2 separate regions of the Homo sapiens genome follow, and region 2 is linked to region 1. Evidence: promoter capture Hi-C in 16 types of primary human blood cells and fetal thymus (Javierre and others, 2016). All regions are on one chromosome and are shown on one strand. Each heading gives the region's core, a stretch centred on a gene start or on the middle of the fragment in contact. The rest is flanking DNA. Distances are from core to core; before and after follow the strand shown.

Region 1 (7,905 bases), core at 2,970-5,469:
CTAAGACATTCATAAGGGATCTGCCCCAGGATCCAAACACCTTCCTTCAGGCCCCATCTCCAACAATGGAGAAGCCTCTTTCTATGCGAGATTTGGAGAGGACAAACATCCAAACCATGTCAATAGCTCCTTACAAAGGGTTTGGACGGAAAACTAGAAATAGGCTCAGATAGATCCAGAGAGGTTTGCAGCCCTCCATGCCATCTTTGGCTGTTAGGAGATGATGTTTCTAACTCTGCTTGTCTGGATTCTGTTCTCCCTGCTTTAGCTTGGGAGCCCGTGTTGGAAGAAAGGCACTGAAATGCCTCAGAGCAACAAGTGTCAAAGACCTACATGGAGAGCGGAAGCTTGTGGTTGTCTTGGCTCAAGAGGCTGGGGTTGGCCAGGCACGATGGCTCATGCCTGTAATCCCTGCACTTTGGGAGGTCGAGGCAGGCAGATCACCTGAGGTCAGGAGTTCAAGACCAGTCTGGCCAACATGGTGAAACCCAGTCTCTACTAAAAATACAAAAATTAGCCAGGCGCCTATAGTCCCAGCTACATGGGAGGATGAGGCAGGAAGATCGCTTGAACCTGGGAGGTGGAGGTTGCAGTGAGCAGAGATTGTGCCACTGCACTTCAGCCTGGGTGAGAGAGTGAGACTGCATCTCAAAAAAGAGGCTGGGGTTCTCATCTTTGGTATGTTCAATCATCCCAGAGGTGAGCCTGAAATTCTAAAACATAAAGAGTTCCTCCAAAGTTGCTCTGGGCGGGTCCCAAATTCAAGTTTCCCACTGGCCCTCAGTCTCCTAAGGTTGTTTTAAAGGGAGAATGTTGGCCAATTCTGACTGGGACCCACACCTCCAGGTAAAACTTTAAAAGGACAGCCTTTAGAGAAGAAGGCAGAGATGGGAAAGAGGTAAAACAGCTGTCACCTCTCTTAATTCTAACAATCTTCTCGCACCTAGCTGTAGCCAACTTAGTTCCCACATTCAGCGAAGTTAAGTTGTTTCCAATCATTTGGCCCCTCCCAGCCTGGGGGCCTCTGACCTCTGGCCTTTCTTTGGAAAAGCAATGCAGAGTCCAGATCTGCAGGAGTAGCTCCCAGCTGGGCCCCCGAGAAGGGAAGAAGCAAACTTTCCACAGTTTGCACCAAGACCCAGGAGGCAATGTCAGAGAGGAAGTGAGGAAGCCTGCCTGGCAGAAAAGCAATGGCGGCTCAGACATATCCACCCACAGACACTCCATTCTCCTGCAAGTGTCCCCACAATGGATTGGCTCTGCCAGGAGCCATCCCTACCCCCATTCAGCTATCTTAGAATTGTCACCTCCTGAAATAAGGACAGAACATTATGTAACCCATTTCCTCAGGCCTCAGACCTATGGAGTCACATGCACTAGTCAGGAGAATCCCATTGGCTCTTCCATAGGGCCCCAGGGCCGCTGCACACAGGGCTTTGTGTGAATTAGAGAGAGGAGGCCTCTCTGGGCACTTTTGAAGGTGCCTTCTCTGAGTAGAAAAAGCAGAAAAATGTCCCCATTTGCGTGACAGGCACTCTCGGATGCAGCAATATTTATGCAACTGTATGTGTGGCACTGAATGAGTCCCTCCTTTTGAAGCCTTCCCTAGGTGGTCTGGGTGTTTTCAGAGCATCTGCCATGTTCCTCCTGTCCTGCTCAAGCTCTCTCTGGTTGATGGCCTCTGTCTCCAAGGCTACTGGAGGACATCTTGCTTCTGCTGGTGTCCACTGTGGGGTGCTGATGTCTGGCTCCAGGGAGGGCCTCCCTGTGCTCTCAGAATGGCCAAGTGAGGCTGTGCCCTCGGCGCCTGGGCACGAAGGCAGTGCTGTTGGAGGCTGGCATCACACTGAACCAGCTTTTTTTTTTTCCTTTTTAGAGACAGTCTCACTCTGTTGCCCAGGCTGGAGTGCAGTGGCATGATCACAGCTCACTGCAACCCCCGCATCCCGGGTTCAAGCGATTCTCCTGCCTCAGCCTCCGGAGTAGCTGGGATTACAGGCATGCACCACCACACCCAGCTAATTTTTGTATTTTTAGTAGGACGGGGTTTCACCATGTTGGCCAGGCTAGTCTTGAACTCCTGACCTTAAGTGATCCGCCCGCCTCAGCCTTCCAAAGTACATAGAACCAGCTCTTAAGGCCACTGCCTCAGGCCCTCACTCCACAAAACCGTAAGTCCTTGGGACCAGGCCAACAAAGGGTCACAATCCAAGGTGGATATCCTGTGCCCCACTCACTCCAGTTCCCCCAAGTCCACAGACAAACCCTGCTGCTTTCAGCATTCCTCTTCCTCAAAGGCAAACCTTGCTTGCTGGGAGCTCCACCCATCAGTTCATGGGACATCCCTAAAAACTCATTTTCCAAATTAAACCACAGAGTACCTTCTGTCATACATTTTGGAGTTTTGTTTTACCTACCTCCTTCTTTTCCCGTAGTGAAACAAGCAAGGGGTTTAGCCTGAATGCATTCTACATCGTAGCAGAGTTTATGGGGAATCCGACTAGGTTATAGGAAAGACTGAGATCAAAAGACCAAACACTACGTTTCCAAGATTGTTTGTAGGAAATAGTCAAAATTGAGAAGCTGTAGATATGAACAGGACACCCTGTTGAAAGAAAATGAAGTGCTAGGCCAGTACTGACATAAGGTAAGAGATAAAATGAGCCAGTGAGAGAATCCCACGCACCACACCTCATATGATCCAGGAAAGCTTCCTGGATGTGGAGGACTTTGATGTAAAGAGTAACCAAAATTTCCTATGAGGAATCACCCCTTCCCCTCTCTCAGTCCCAAGGTGAAACACATGACTTGGTTCTGAACAATCAAAGCCCTGAATCCACTATCCCCAGTGACTGTTTGGGAGGAAGGGGTTAAGCAGGGTGACTCCTAAGTCTGAATTTGAACCTGTAAGGATAAAGTCGTGAATCTGTTACCCAATGGAGAATGACAATAAGCCAACAACAAGAGTAGAGGCGAGAAATGGAGAGAGGCCCAGTCCACATGAGTCCTGGGTTAAGCTTTATCTGAAGTCTTTTATATATAAAAGACAGTAAATTCCCTTTTCTGAGTAGGCCGATTTAAGTTGGATTTCTACTTCTTTGGAATCAAGAGTCCTGATGATTCAGAGGAAAGAAGGACTTATATAACATGAACAAAGACAGAAAGCTGGGAACTAAGAACCAGAGGGTAGTGGACAGTATCCTCAGCATCTGCCTCTGGGAAGTGCCACCTCTCTGACCATCCCCACAGTCATAAAGGAGAACTCCCCTGTACCTGGGCTTTCTTAAATGACCCTGTTCCTTCCTCAAGGTGGCTAATGCCTGTAATCGCAGCTACTGCGGAGGCTGAGGTGGGAGGATCACTTGACCCCGGGAGTTGGAGGCTGGAATGCAGTAGCCCCATGATGGGGCTACTGCACTCCAGCCTGGGCAACAGAGCAAGAAGAAGACCCTGTCTCTAAAACAAAACCAACCAACCAAACAAACAAAAAGACTCTACTCCCCTGGTCACATCTGAGCTATCACAATTTCTTCCTCAGAAAATTGAAATTGCAACAAACAGTTTAATGTCAGTCAAGGCTAGTCCCCTGAAGGGGAAAAGAGGTAACACCTTGGGAACCATAGCATGGCTGTGTTTACTGCTTGTGGACTGAGCAGAAGAGAAAGCAAGACAGTATCATCACTTTATAGATGAGGAAAACTGATGGTCAGAAAGATTATGTAGCTTGCCTAAGGTTGCACATTTGGTATGATTTTACAGAACTAGAATCCAGCTTTTTGAATTCAAGGGTGGGGCAGGAAACAGCTAGGTCAGTGGCCTAAGAACTCCGGACGGGTGAGATTTGGGGCAGACAGCAGGGGTAGTCACCCTACAAGAGTCACGCCAAGTGCAAGCACTCAGAGACATCTCCCAACACTCAAAACAGCAAAGAAGTTCTGGTGCTTTAAGTGTTCCTCGCTCGGCTCAGAGACTCGGCTTCGAGCCGCGACTCAAGACAGCACCTGGGGGTATTTGTTTTGCCTAAGCCTGCTGCACTTCCACGGCCATTGAATCCCAAAAACTACAATTCCCATTATGCACCGCGAGTTCGCGGACTAAACAGGCATAAACTACAAGCCCCAGAATGCCTTGGGCGAGACGCGAGAGCACGGAGGAGCGGAGGGGCGTGGCCACGTCGACCGCGCGGGACCGTTAAATTTGAAACTTGGCGGCTAGGGGTGTGGGCTTGAGGTGGCCGGTTTGTTAGGGAGTCGTGTACGTGCCTTGGTCGCTTCTGTAGCTCCGAGGGCAGGTTGCGGAAGAAAGCCCAGGCGGTCTGTGGCCCAGAGGAAAGGCCTGCAGCAGGACGAGGACCTGAGCCAGGAATGCAGGATGGCGGCGGTGAAGAAGGAAGGGGGTGCTCTGAGGTAGGTACGGGAGAAAGCTGCTGGGGGCTGGGCCTGAGAGGACACGGCCTGGTAGGTAATAGAAGGCTCCGCTCGGAGCAGTCGAGGGGGAGATCGGCACCGTCAGAACAGACCCCACCGGAGCCTCCTTCCTTTTGGAGTAGAATGCCGGAGGTGGAGGTGAAAACGCAGTGGACTGAGGGCACGTGCGAATCCTGCCGCATCCAGCTTCAAAGCGAAGAAGGCTGCGGGACCCCAGCGGAACAAAGAGTTTGGAAGTTGCAATGTTGTCTGTTTGTAACTCAGCTCAGCCACCTGCTAGTTGTTTGACCTTGGGCAAATCGTTTGTATGGAAAATGCTGATGTTAATGCTGCCTTACGTGGTTCTGGGGGAATTCAAAGTATTTGTTAAGTAACTGCTTCCAAATAAGCGCTCAACAAATGGCAGGTGCTATGCCAATAGCACAGAGATCTGAAAGCCTTTAGCCAATATCATAGAGATCTAAATTATGCCAATAACATAGAGATCTAAAAGCCTTTTTCTGCATGTTTGCGGCTTTTCCTTGTATTAAAAAAACTATATTGCAGTTCTAGGTTGGAAATCTGTATGTGTTTTCACTGTGGTGCCCGCAATACCTAGATAAGTGCTATGTCATGGGCTCTTTCATTCATGTAACAAGTATTTTTTTGGCTAAGCTCTGAGTGCAGCAAATATACAGACACAAAAATCTCAACCCTCATGAAGCTTAAGTTCTGGCATGGGATGAAGGTGGGGGAGTCAGACAATAAAGACAAACTGTTAGGTGGAGATGTGGTCAGTACTAAAAAAAATAATAAAGCAACTGGGTGTAGTGAATATTGGGGGTGGGGATTGGTGCAATTTAACTTGAACACTGGAGTCTCACTGAGGAGATGTCACTTTGGTCAAGACTTGAAGGAATCTCAAAAGCTAGAGGTTCTATATCTGAGGAGAGTACAAAGGCTGAGGGTGAGAGCTAGGGGAGGAAGTTGCACCTGGCATGTCCAAGGCCATTGTCACTGGAGCAGAATTAACTAGAAGAGTAAAAGGATATTATGTAAAAATGGTGAAGATGCAGATTGTAAGGACTTAGCTTTTACTCTAGTTGTAATCAAAAGTCATTGGAAGGTTTTGAGCAAAGGAAAGACATAATCTGACTTGGGTTTAAATGGGGTCACTTTGGCTGTAGTGTTGAATACACTAAAGGCAGCAAAGGATGGAAGCAAGGGACACCAGTTAAGAGGTTATTGAAATAATTCAGCTCAAAAGTGAGTTGAGCCAGGTGGAAAACAGTGGAGATGATGATAAGTGGTTGATTTCTGTATATATTTTGAAGGTAGAACCAGTAGGACTTGCTGACTGACTGAGGGGTATGAGAAGGGCATCAAAGTTGGCACTAAGATTTTTGGCTTGGGTAACTGAAGAATGGGATTGCCATTTATTTGAGAAAGAGGAAGACTGTGGGAGGAGCAGGTCTGGGAGGAAGTGGGGGCAGTCTTAGCTCAATTTGGGATATTTAACTGAGATAGTGTAATTCACTATTTTTAAGAGCAAGAGAAGAAAGTTCAGATGAATTCAACAAACAGGGCATAATAGTGTTATATCTCGTATTAGATCATGGGCATACAAAAATAAATGGCATAGCCCTTACCTTTACAGAGTTCACACAATATAGAGCAGGTCCTGGTATAACATCGTTTCGTTATAATGTTGATGAGAAAAAAAATCAATTCATTGCGGGGCTGCTGTGTATGTGGAGTTTTCATGTTTTCCGCATGTCTGCATGGGTTTCCTTAGGTACTCCAGTTTCCTTCTACATCCCAAAGATGTGCCTGTTAATTGGCGTGTCTAAATGATCCCAGTCTGAATGGGTGTGAATGTGATGCTCCCTGTGATGGAGTGGTGTCCTGTCCAGGGTTGGTTCCTCTCTGAGTTGCTGAGATGGGCTCTGGCCACCCTCAACCCCGAACTAGAATAAGTGAGTTGGAAAATGAATGAAGGAATGAATACAAATTACTGTAAAATAAAAATCTGTAAAGGCTGGGAGCGGTGGCTCACACCTGTAATCCCAGCACTTCGGGAGGCTGAGGCAACAGGATTGCTTAAGCTCAGCGGTTCAAGACCAGCCTGGGCAACATAGTAAGGCCTGTCTCTATTTAAAAAGTTTATATAAAGTGTGTATGATAATCATATAAATGCATGACAATAAACAATGCCTTATGAAAGTGCCCAGCATGCCCACTATAGTGTTACTATTTGTTTTTTGAACTTTGTGGTGGTAGGAGGTACTTCTTGAAATTTTCACTCTCAAACATTTATTCCTTGAGTTAACCCACCAACACTATGACTGCAGTCATTCACTGATTCGCCAAAAATTGGGTAAATGATTATTTTTTGTTTTCATTAAATGTTCTTAAGTGTACGGATAGCTCACATTTATTTCAATATTTAGTATTAAAAATGTTTGTTTCGAGTCTTTATTCAGAAGTTTGGTGACGTTTTTGTGACCAGAAATATGCCATAGGAACTTAACTTTTGTTTATGTCGATCAGCCTGTGGTAAAATTGGTTTTGTTACATGTCATTTTGATTAAAGTCATAGTTTCCAAGAAGCTGTCTCCAACGAGTTTTCAGTGCTCATCTAGACTGAAGTCACATATAACTTTCACTCTATTTCAAAGATTAGTGCCAATGTGTCTCTCTTTTTGTTTTAAGTCCAGAGGTAATGTCTCTTAGAAATAGTCTTCTATCTAACCATTGCAGGGCTCTGAATTGCAGAATACGTAATGGGAATTACCTCCAAAACGTTTCGGGGGTTTTCTCAGTAGGCTTGCTAGAATTGGGTGTGAGGATGCAGGGAATTGTGACTAGTAAACTGTGTTTGTTTGCTTCTGCTTTTAGCTACTTATATGTACAAACTTCAGTTTTGAATCATCATTGAAACATGGGACATTAGTCTCACCCACACTTTGCTAATTTTAATGTTTTTTTTTTGAGACAGGGTCTTGCTCTGTTGCCCAGGCTGCAGTGCAGTGGTGTGATCATGGCTCACTGCAGCTTCGACCCCTGAACCCAAGCAATGCTCCCACCTCAGTCTTCTAAGTAGCCACGACCATGGGCGTGTACCACCACGCCTGGCTAATTTTTCACTTTTTGTAGAGATGGGGGTCTTCCTATGTTGCCCAGGGTGGTGTTGAACTCCTGGGCTCAAGCACTTCTCCTGACTCAGCCTCCCAAAGTGGTAGGATTACAGGCATGAGCTACCACATCCGGCACTAATTTTAAATTAAACTAGATGATGCATTCAATGGTAGGCATAGAATTACTTGTTGCCTTTTTGTCTACTTTGCCAAATTTATAACACTTTTGTTCCCTTCTTTTCTTTCTGCCTTAAGCCCTATTCATTTTTCTTTTTTTTTTTTTTTTTAAAGAAAGAGGCAGGGTCTTGCTATGTTGCCCAGGCTGGTATCAAACTCCTGGCTCAAGAAATCCTCCCACTTCG
Region 2 (7,905 bases), core at 2,150-4,649, 140 kb before region 1:
GCACCTGCCTTCACACTGAGGCCCGGGCCGTGTAGGTGACTGGAAATCCGTTCCCTCTACTCTCCCTTTCCATTGTTGGGTTTCTTTTTTTTTTTTGAGACGGAGTCTCGCTGTCTCCCAGGCTGGAGTGCAATGACGCAATCTCGGCTCACTGCAAGCTCCGCCTCCCGGGTTCTCGCCATTTTCCTGCCTCAGCCTCCCCGGTAGCTGGGACTGCAGGTGCCCGCCACCACGCTCGGCTAATTTTTTGTATTTTTAGTGGAGACGGGGTTTCACCATGTTGGCCAGGATGGTCTCCTGACCTCGTGATCTGCCCGCCTCGGCCTCCCAAAGTGCTGGGATTACAGGGGTCAGCCACCGCGCCCGGCCGTTGTTGGGTTTCTTGCTGAAGAAAATGTGTATAAAATAAGGAAGAGAGTCCACCTTCATTAAAGCTTTAAAAAGCAAAACAAACAAAAAAACTGGCTGTGGTTTTTTCCTACTTTTCTCCTCTTGTTCTCTTTTTCCAGCTAAGAAAATAAGAATAAGTAAAGTTGTATCTGCTGATAGGCATATCCTCTCATTGCTTTGTAACCAATTTTACTTTTTTGTATTCAACTAAAAGTGTTCATAAATATACCACCTCATAACCTTTATTTCTAATTATTTTTAAAGGGAAAAAAACTTTCTTAAAAATATTTTTCTCTTCTAATTTTTTTTTGGTTTCGATATCAGGGTAATGTTGGCCTGATGAAATGAGTTGGAGAGTGTTCTCTCCTCTTCTGTTTTCTGTAAGATACTGTATACAATTAGTATTAGAAGTCCAATCTCAAATATTTCTATATATAGAGCTATTCTGGTTACCTCTTTCTTCTAGAGGCAGCTTTGGTAGTTTATATCTTTCCCGGAACTTTTCCATTTCGTCTGAGTTTTCAGATATTCCCCTGTTATTGTTTCACTGTCTCTAGGATCTGCAGTGATGCTCCCTCCTTCAGACCTGATATGGGTAATTTGTGTCCTCCCTCTTTTTTGTCTAATCAGCCTGGCTAGAGATTGATCAGTTTTGTCTTTCCAAGGACCAGCTTTTGGTGTCATTGATTTTTCTCAGTTTTTATTTGTTCATGTGTTTTCTATTTTATTCATCTCCACTCTTATCCATTACTATTTTCTTCCTTCTGCTTATTTTGGATTTAGTTTATTCTTTTTTTAGTTTCTTCAGGTAGAACTTTAGATGAGGTATTGACAAACTACACCTTGGACCAAATTCAGCCCATAGCCTGCTTTTATATGTCTGTGAACTAGAAATTTTTACATTCTTTGTTAAAAAACAACAACAAACAAAGGAGAGTGTGTGACTCCAACTATGTATGGCCCTCAAAGCTTAAAACATTTCCTATCTGGCCCTTTACAGAAAAAAATTTGAAGCTTTGTTATTATACATGTTTAGGATTTTATATCTTCTTGATGAATTGTCTTCATCATTATAAAATATTCCTTATCCCTGGTAATATTTCTTGTTCTGAAATCTTTTGGTTAGTGTTTACGTCACTACCTTTCTCCATCCTTTTATTTTTAACCTGTCTTTTTTTTTTAAGAGATGGGGGTCTCATCATGTTGCCCAGGCTGGCCTTGAACGCCTGGGCTCAAGCAATCTTCTCACCTCAGCCTCCAGCTGGGATACAGGCGTGTGCCACTGCACCTGGCTAACTTATCTATCTTTATATTTAAAGTGAGTTTCTTATACACAGTCACTAGGTTGAGTTTTCCTTTTTTTTTTTTTTTTTTTTTTTGAGATGGATTCTTGCTCTGTCACGCAGGCTGGAGTGCAGTGGTGCAATCTCCACTTGCTGCAACCTCCACCTCCCAAGTTCTCCTACCTCAGCCTCCTGAGTAGCTGGGTTTATAGGCACACACCACCACACCCAGCTAATTTTTGTATTTTTAGTAGAGACAGGGTTTCACCATGTTGGTCAGGCTGGTCTCGAGCTCCTGACCTCATGATCCACCCACCTCGGCTCCCCAAAGTGCTGGGATTAGAGGCGTGAGCCACTGCGCCCAGCCTCCTTTTTTTTTTTTTACTCTGAGAATCCTGGCTTTTTTTTGTTTTTTTTTTTGAGACAGGGTCTCACTCACCTATGTTGGAGTGCAGTGGCGCGATCTCAGCTTACTGGAACCTGTCTCCCAGGATCAAGTGATCCTCCCACCTCAGCCTCCCGAGTAGCTGGGACTACAGGCACGCACCACCATGACTGGCTAATTTTTGTATTTTTAGTAGAGACGAGGTCTCTACTAAATGCCAAATGCCATGAGATTTGCTAAATGCCATGAGAGTCCTACAGATAAAGTTCTCCAAGGGTCCCTCAGGCTGGGAGATTTACATAAGAGGCAGCAGTGAAGTCTTCAGGAAGGTGCTGGGATTTATCCTACCCTCAAGAATTCGTGGTCCTGGAAGGGCCTTTTAGGAAGAGGGAACTGCAAAGGTGATGGTAGTTCTTTTAGTAGTTGTCCCAAAGATAGAGGCAGGCCAGCAGAGAACCATTCTGGTACAACCCTGAATAGTCTATTTTGGGTGAGACAGATGGATCAGAAGCAGAAAATGGTTATAGCTACATCATGGAGAGCCCAAATGCCAACCAAGGAATCTGGTTTTTTTATTTAGCAGTTATTGGGGAGGCCCCGAATGTTTTGAACAGAAGGAGACATCAAAGTTGTGTTTGAGAAAAATTAATCTGCAGGGATGTGTAGCATGGAATAGAGTGAGGGAGAAACCGAGGACAGTGATAGCAGTATAAAGAATATCAAACTAGCCTAGGCCAAGGTTGGGTGCTGGCCAGGGGAGTGAAGATGAAGGGACAGATGCCATAAAAGTGGGATGACAGGACTTGGGTTTAGAAAGGAGAGGGAGGAGTGGTAGATGAAGCTGAGATCTGAGAAACCTTGGTGGCTGACCAGATTTAAAGGGGAAGATGTTAAAGAATCACATGAAATGAGAGCCCATTCATCTTGGCCTTAAAAAAAAAAAATTCTATCATCTGTGATAAACTAGTCCAGACCAGGGTTTCTCAACAGCAGCGCTGTTCACATTTTGGGCCAAATAATTCTCTGTTGTAGGGGGCTGTCCTGTGCATTAACAGCATCTCTGACCGCTACCTACTACATGCCAGTTGCACCATCCAAAAATGTCACCAGACATTGCTAAATGTCCCCTGGGGAGCAAAATTGACCCTGGTTAAGAACCACTGACCCAAACTATTGATTTAGTAGTCTTACTGTGGTGCTCTGAGCTAGTCTTCTGGGTTCAGAAACCTCCAAATGATAGATCCGTTTCATTCTTTTTAAGGTTAAGTCTTTCGAGAAGGAAAGGCAGACAGAGAAGCGTGTGCTGGAGACTGAACTTGTGGACCATGTACTGCAGAAACTGAGGACTAAAGTCACTGATGAAAGGAATGGCAGGTAACTTAGGAAACAAAAGCCGAGAAAAGTGACTTCAGTTACCTATATGGAAACTACGTAAATTTATTTTAAAAGTCAATTTGAGCCAGGTGCTGTGGCTCACACCTGTAATCCCAGCACTTTGGGAGGCCAAGTTTGGGGAATCACTTGAGGCCAGGAATGCAAGACCAGCCTGGGCAACATACCAAGACCCCATTTCTAAAAAAAAAATTTTTTTGATTAGCTGGGCATGGTGGTGCATTCCTATGGTCCCAGCTACTCAGGAGCTGAGGTGGGAGGATTGCTTGAGCCCAGGAGGTCAAGGCTGCAGTGAGCCATGTTCATACCACTGCACTCCAGCCTGGGTGAAGAGAAAGACCCTGTCTAAGAAAAACAAAAAGAAAGAAATCAATTTGATCCTTTTGAGAAACAAAGATAGGTCAGGATTACTTTTAATGAACCATTCTGTTGCTTCTGAATAACTCAATCAGGAGTTTAATTGTATGACCATCTTGTATGAGACTAATCATAGCTTACATTCAACATTTGTTCTTCATACCATTTCCAAGAATACTTTATCATTTTGAAAAGCCTCAGGAGCCAAAATCTATCTGTCATTATCTTATTCAGTCTGCTAATCAGTGAATTTCAATAATATTTTGTCCGTGTACTTTGAAAGATGTAACGTTCTGGGAAAAGATCTCACTTCCTCATGATGGGAGTATCAACCATATGGGTAGGAATTTGACAAAGTAAATTAAAAGCCTTAAAACTAAACATTTTTTTTAAATTGACCCAGCAATTCCACTTTCAGGAATTTATAATAAAAATTATTTTAAAGATGTCTATCAAGGCTCATTTATAACAGCAGTTCTCAAACTTTTTGGTCTTAGAACCCCTTTACACCCTTAAAAATTATTTCAGGATCCCAAAGAACTTTTGTTTATGTGAGTTATATCTATAAATATTAAAACATAAACATTTTAAATATGTTTATTCATTTAAAAATAACAATAACCCCATTACATGCTAACGTAACATATTTCTATTGAAAAACAACTGTTTTCCAAAAGAAAATTAACTTAGTAAGGAAAATGGCATTGTTTAAAATATTTGCACATCTTTTAGTACACTGTTTTACATTTTTGTAATCTATTTTAACACTTTAGTAGAAGAAATGATTCTCCTGTCTGTTTATGTATTCAATCTGTTGTGATACCACAAATCATATAGTCTCTGGAAAACTCGGTTGCACATTTATGAGAGGATGAGAGTGAAAAGGCAATTAATATTTTAAGATTATTATGAAAATAGTTTTGACCTTGCAAGACCCCTTGAAAGGATATGAGGGACCTTCAAGATTCTCTAGACCACACTTGGAGAACCTCATTTCAAAATATACATTGGTAGAAGATTGTTTGAATTATGATAATTTGGTGAAATATTGTGCAGCCTTTAAAAATGATGATTCTACTAAAGCTGAGTTCATTGACATGGAAAGATGTCCATAAATAGGATGTTTAATATAATCCCATTTTGTGGCCGGGCGTGGTGGCTCACGCCTGTAATCCCAGCACTTTGGGAGGCCGAGAAGGGGGGATCATGAGGTCAGGAGATCGAGATCATCCTGGCTAACACGGTGAAACCCCGTCTCTACTAAAGATACAAAAAAATTAGCGGGGCATGGTGGCGGGCACCTGTAGTCCCAGCTACTCGGGAGGCTGAGGCAGGAGAATGGCGTGAACCCGGGAGGTGGAGCTTGCAGTGAGTGGAGATCGTGGACTGCACTCCAGCCTGGGTGACAGAGCGAGACTCTGTCTCAAAAAAAAAAACAAAAAGAACAACAACAACAACGAATATATAATCCCATTTTGTTTTAAACAAAATATACAACCTATACATAAAAAAATGTCTAGAAGAACGTACCAAATTTTTAATTGTAGTTTTGGTTAGTGGGATTACAAGGGATCTTAAATTACTTTGTTAAGCTTTTCTATATATTTGCAACTCCTTTTTTTTTTTTTGAGATAGAGTCTCACTTTTGCCGAGGCTGAAGTGCAGTGGTGTATACATGACTCACTATAGCCTTAACCTCCCAGGCTCAGGTGATCCTTCCTTCTTGGCCTCCTGAGTAGCTGGGACCGTAGTCATGTACCACCTTGTCCAGCTAATTTTTTTAAATTATTTGTAGAGACAGGATCTCCCTATGTTGCCCAGGCTGGTCTCCAACTCCTGGACTCAAGCAACTCTCCCGCCTCAAGAAATTCTTATATGTATGCTCATTATCAGAAAATACCACACGGTAATTTTTCTGGCTTACATCAGCAATTCTCAACCAACAATGATTTTGCTTCCCAGGGCACATCTGGCAATGTATGGAGACATTTTTGGTTGTCACAACTGGGGAGTTTTACTGGTATCTAGGAGAGGCCAGGGATACTGTGAAAACATCCTAAAGGGTACAGGACTACTACCCCCCAACAGAGAATTTTCTGGCCTAAAATTTCAGTAGTACCAAGATTGGGAAATCCTGGCTTACAGAAAACAAACCTTGCTCTGTTCTTCTCATGCCCCCACCCCTTCTTATTTGCACCTAGCCTTAATAAATTCACCATTAGGTGTTTCTGAGGGAACATAATGTTCTGGAAATCACCAGTATTGGAATTATAGATCTAAATCAAAGACAGAGGTTTAGAAGAGAAACCAAGAAATAGCCAAGTAGTGAGTATGGGGGAACATTACCAAGACACTTAAAAGGCTACATGGGATTTAGTTTTAGCAGGGAAAGGTTCAAAGTTTTTCCTCCAGCAAATGATTATTTCCCTGTTTTCCCAAGATAGAGTGCTGTTGTCTCTCTCAAAGGCTATAAATTAATTCACAGCATTTGAAAGAACATCCATTCACGGCTTTTTAAAGAATATCTTTATTTACCAAATGTTCTCCTGTGGGTGGTTGCCAAGGCTACTGCCATAATGAAGGTGGGGCTGCTGTTATTCATGTTTCCTTGTATTATGAGGGGGGCGGAAAGAACACCCATTATATTTCATTGAAATCAGCTTATTGTGTGGATCCAGGATTTCACGCCCAGCTGAATAAATCAGAATGTTTTCCTTAGGCATTTGTTAACTTAAAAAGACATCCTTTATAATTTTTACTTGCTCTTGACCAAAGCATAACTAAATGCAAATTTTTTGTTTTTGTTTTTCCACCAATAACCAAGAAGATGTTTTTATATTTAATGGAAAAGTGGCTCACTATACATGTAGTTCACTGTAAGTTATGTGTTGCTTGTGCCTTATTGACTGTTCTTTAATTGTTTTTGTTTGCTTGTTTTTAGAGAAGCTTCCGATAATCTTGCAGTGCAAAATCTGAAGGGGTCATTTTCTAATGCTTCAGGTATAATTACTAATTATAATCTGAACATAATGATGCTTATATGTTTGCTCTAAGCACTTATTACTGTAGCTAACTGCTTGTGACACTGGAAATCTATTTTTAAAATAACATATACGCAATAAATTGTACCACATGGGATGCATCCCTATGCTTTGAAATCCACATCCTAGAAAAGGATAAAACAACTGGAATTTAGCTGACTCTTCTACTCTATCTCTTATTTTTACAAGTGATTTAATCTTCCTTTTACTCAATTTATTGTACAAGTGAAATGTGTATAATTTTCCTGGAGATTTTCCTCATACAGAGGATTGAAGGAAGTATTTTGAAATCCCTTGAAGAAGGACACTATACACATTTTGTTTTCGTGAAAGCCAAGAGGGCACAGTGGTGATAGTTATGCCTTTGCTTTCATCACCTCTAGCAACCTTACTTCTTTTTTAAAGAAGTGTTCCAATTAAGGCCATGAGAAGACATATTTGGCTTTTAACAGAATTGAGTCTTTCCCATTCTCTTCTGTTAGCACTAACTTTGTGTTGCCATCAGATTTCCAATTCTTGCAGGAATTTAAAGAAGTATGCAGGTTTGGTGATATTCAGCTTGATTTTCTTAGGCCCCTGAGGTTTTGATGACTCCTGTTGCCTCCCTGCCCCTTCCACCACCCCCCAACCCCTGCCTGAGGAGAGAAGCATCAAAACTGCTGGGTGTTGGGGTTCTGGGCTCCTCACCTATCCGGTGCAGATGGTTGTAGGGATAGAAAACACAGCCCAGTCGTGATCTAGCCCTTAGAATCACGACAGGATGTCTACTAATAAACTCTGCCATCTCTCTGTAGTATGTTGTAGAAAGTGGGACCAGATAAGGCCATAAATTCTGAAACTCTCTTGGTCTCAGGTTTGTTTGAAATCCATGGAGCAACAGTGGTTCCCATTGTGAGTGTGCTAGCCCCGGAGAAGCTGTCAGCCAGCACTAGGAGGCGCTATGAAACTCAGGTACACTGGGTCAGGGTTTCTTTGGCTTTCTAATATGAGTTACAGAAGAGAAAAACAACAACAGGAAAGGAAAATAAGATAAACATGGAATTTCTTGGAAATATTT

What was found. Contacts are between HindIII fragments. The CHiCAGO score rates a contact against its expected background, and 5 or more counts as called.
Region 2: a contact is called between a fragment that was not itself captured here and the fragment with the promoter of BUB1B in region 1, in 8 of 17 cell types (total B cells, erythroblasts, fetal thymus and 5 more). The highest score is 7.8, in total B cells.

The regions. Positions count from the first base shown.
Region 1 is chr15:40,156,850-40,164,754 of GRCh38, forward strand. It overlaps BUB1B (BUB1 mitotic checkpoint serine/threonine kinase B), which reads left to right and starts at 4,220. Exons shown (of 23, transcript NM_001211.6): 1 at 4,220-4,406. The coding sequence starts at 4,372. RefSeq lists enhancers at 620-1,480, 4,354-4,453, 4,474-4,603, 4,611-5,375. The HindIII fragment of the contact is 2,113 bases long and covers 3,016-5,128 here.
Region 2 is chr15:40,022,658-40,030,562 of GRCh38, forward strand. EIF2AK4 (eukaryotic translation initiation factor 2 alpha kinase 4) reads left to right here. Exons shown (of 39, transcript NM_001013703.4): 33 at 3,320-3,432; 34 at 6,749-6,807; 35 at 7,702-7,799. Among named protein-coding and RNA genes, the nearest start is that of SRP14, 13 kb to the right of the region's middle. RefSeq lists enhancers at 1-218, 219-718. The HindIII fragment of the contact is 3,995 bases long and covers 1,403-5,397 here.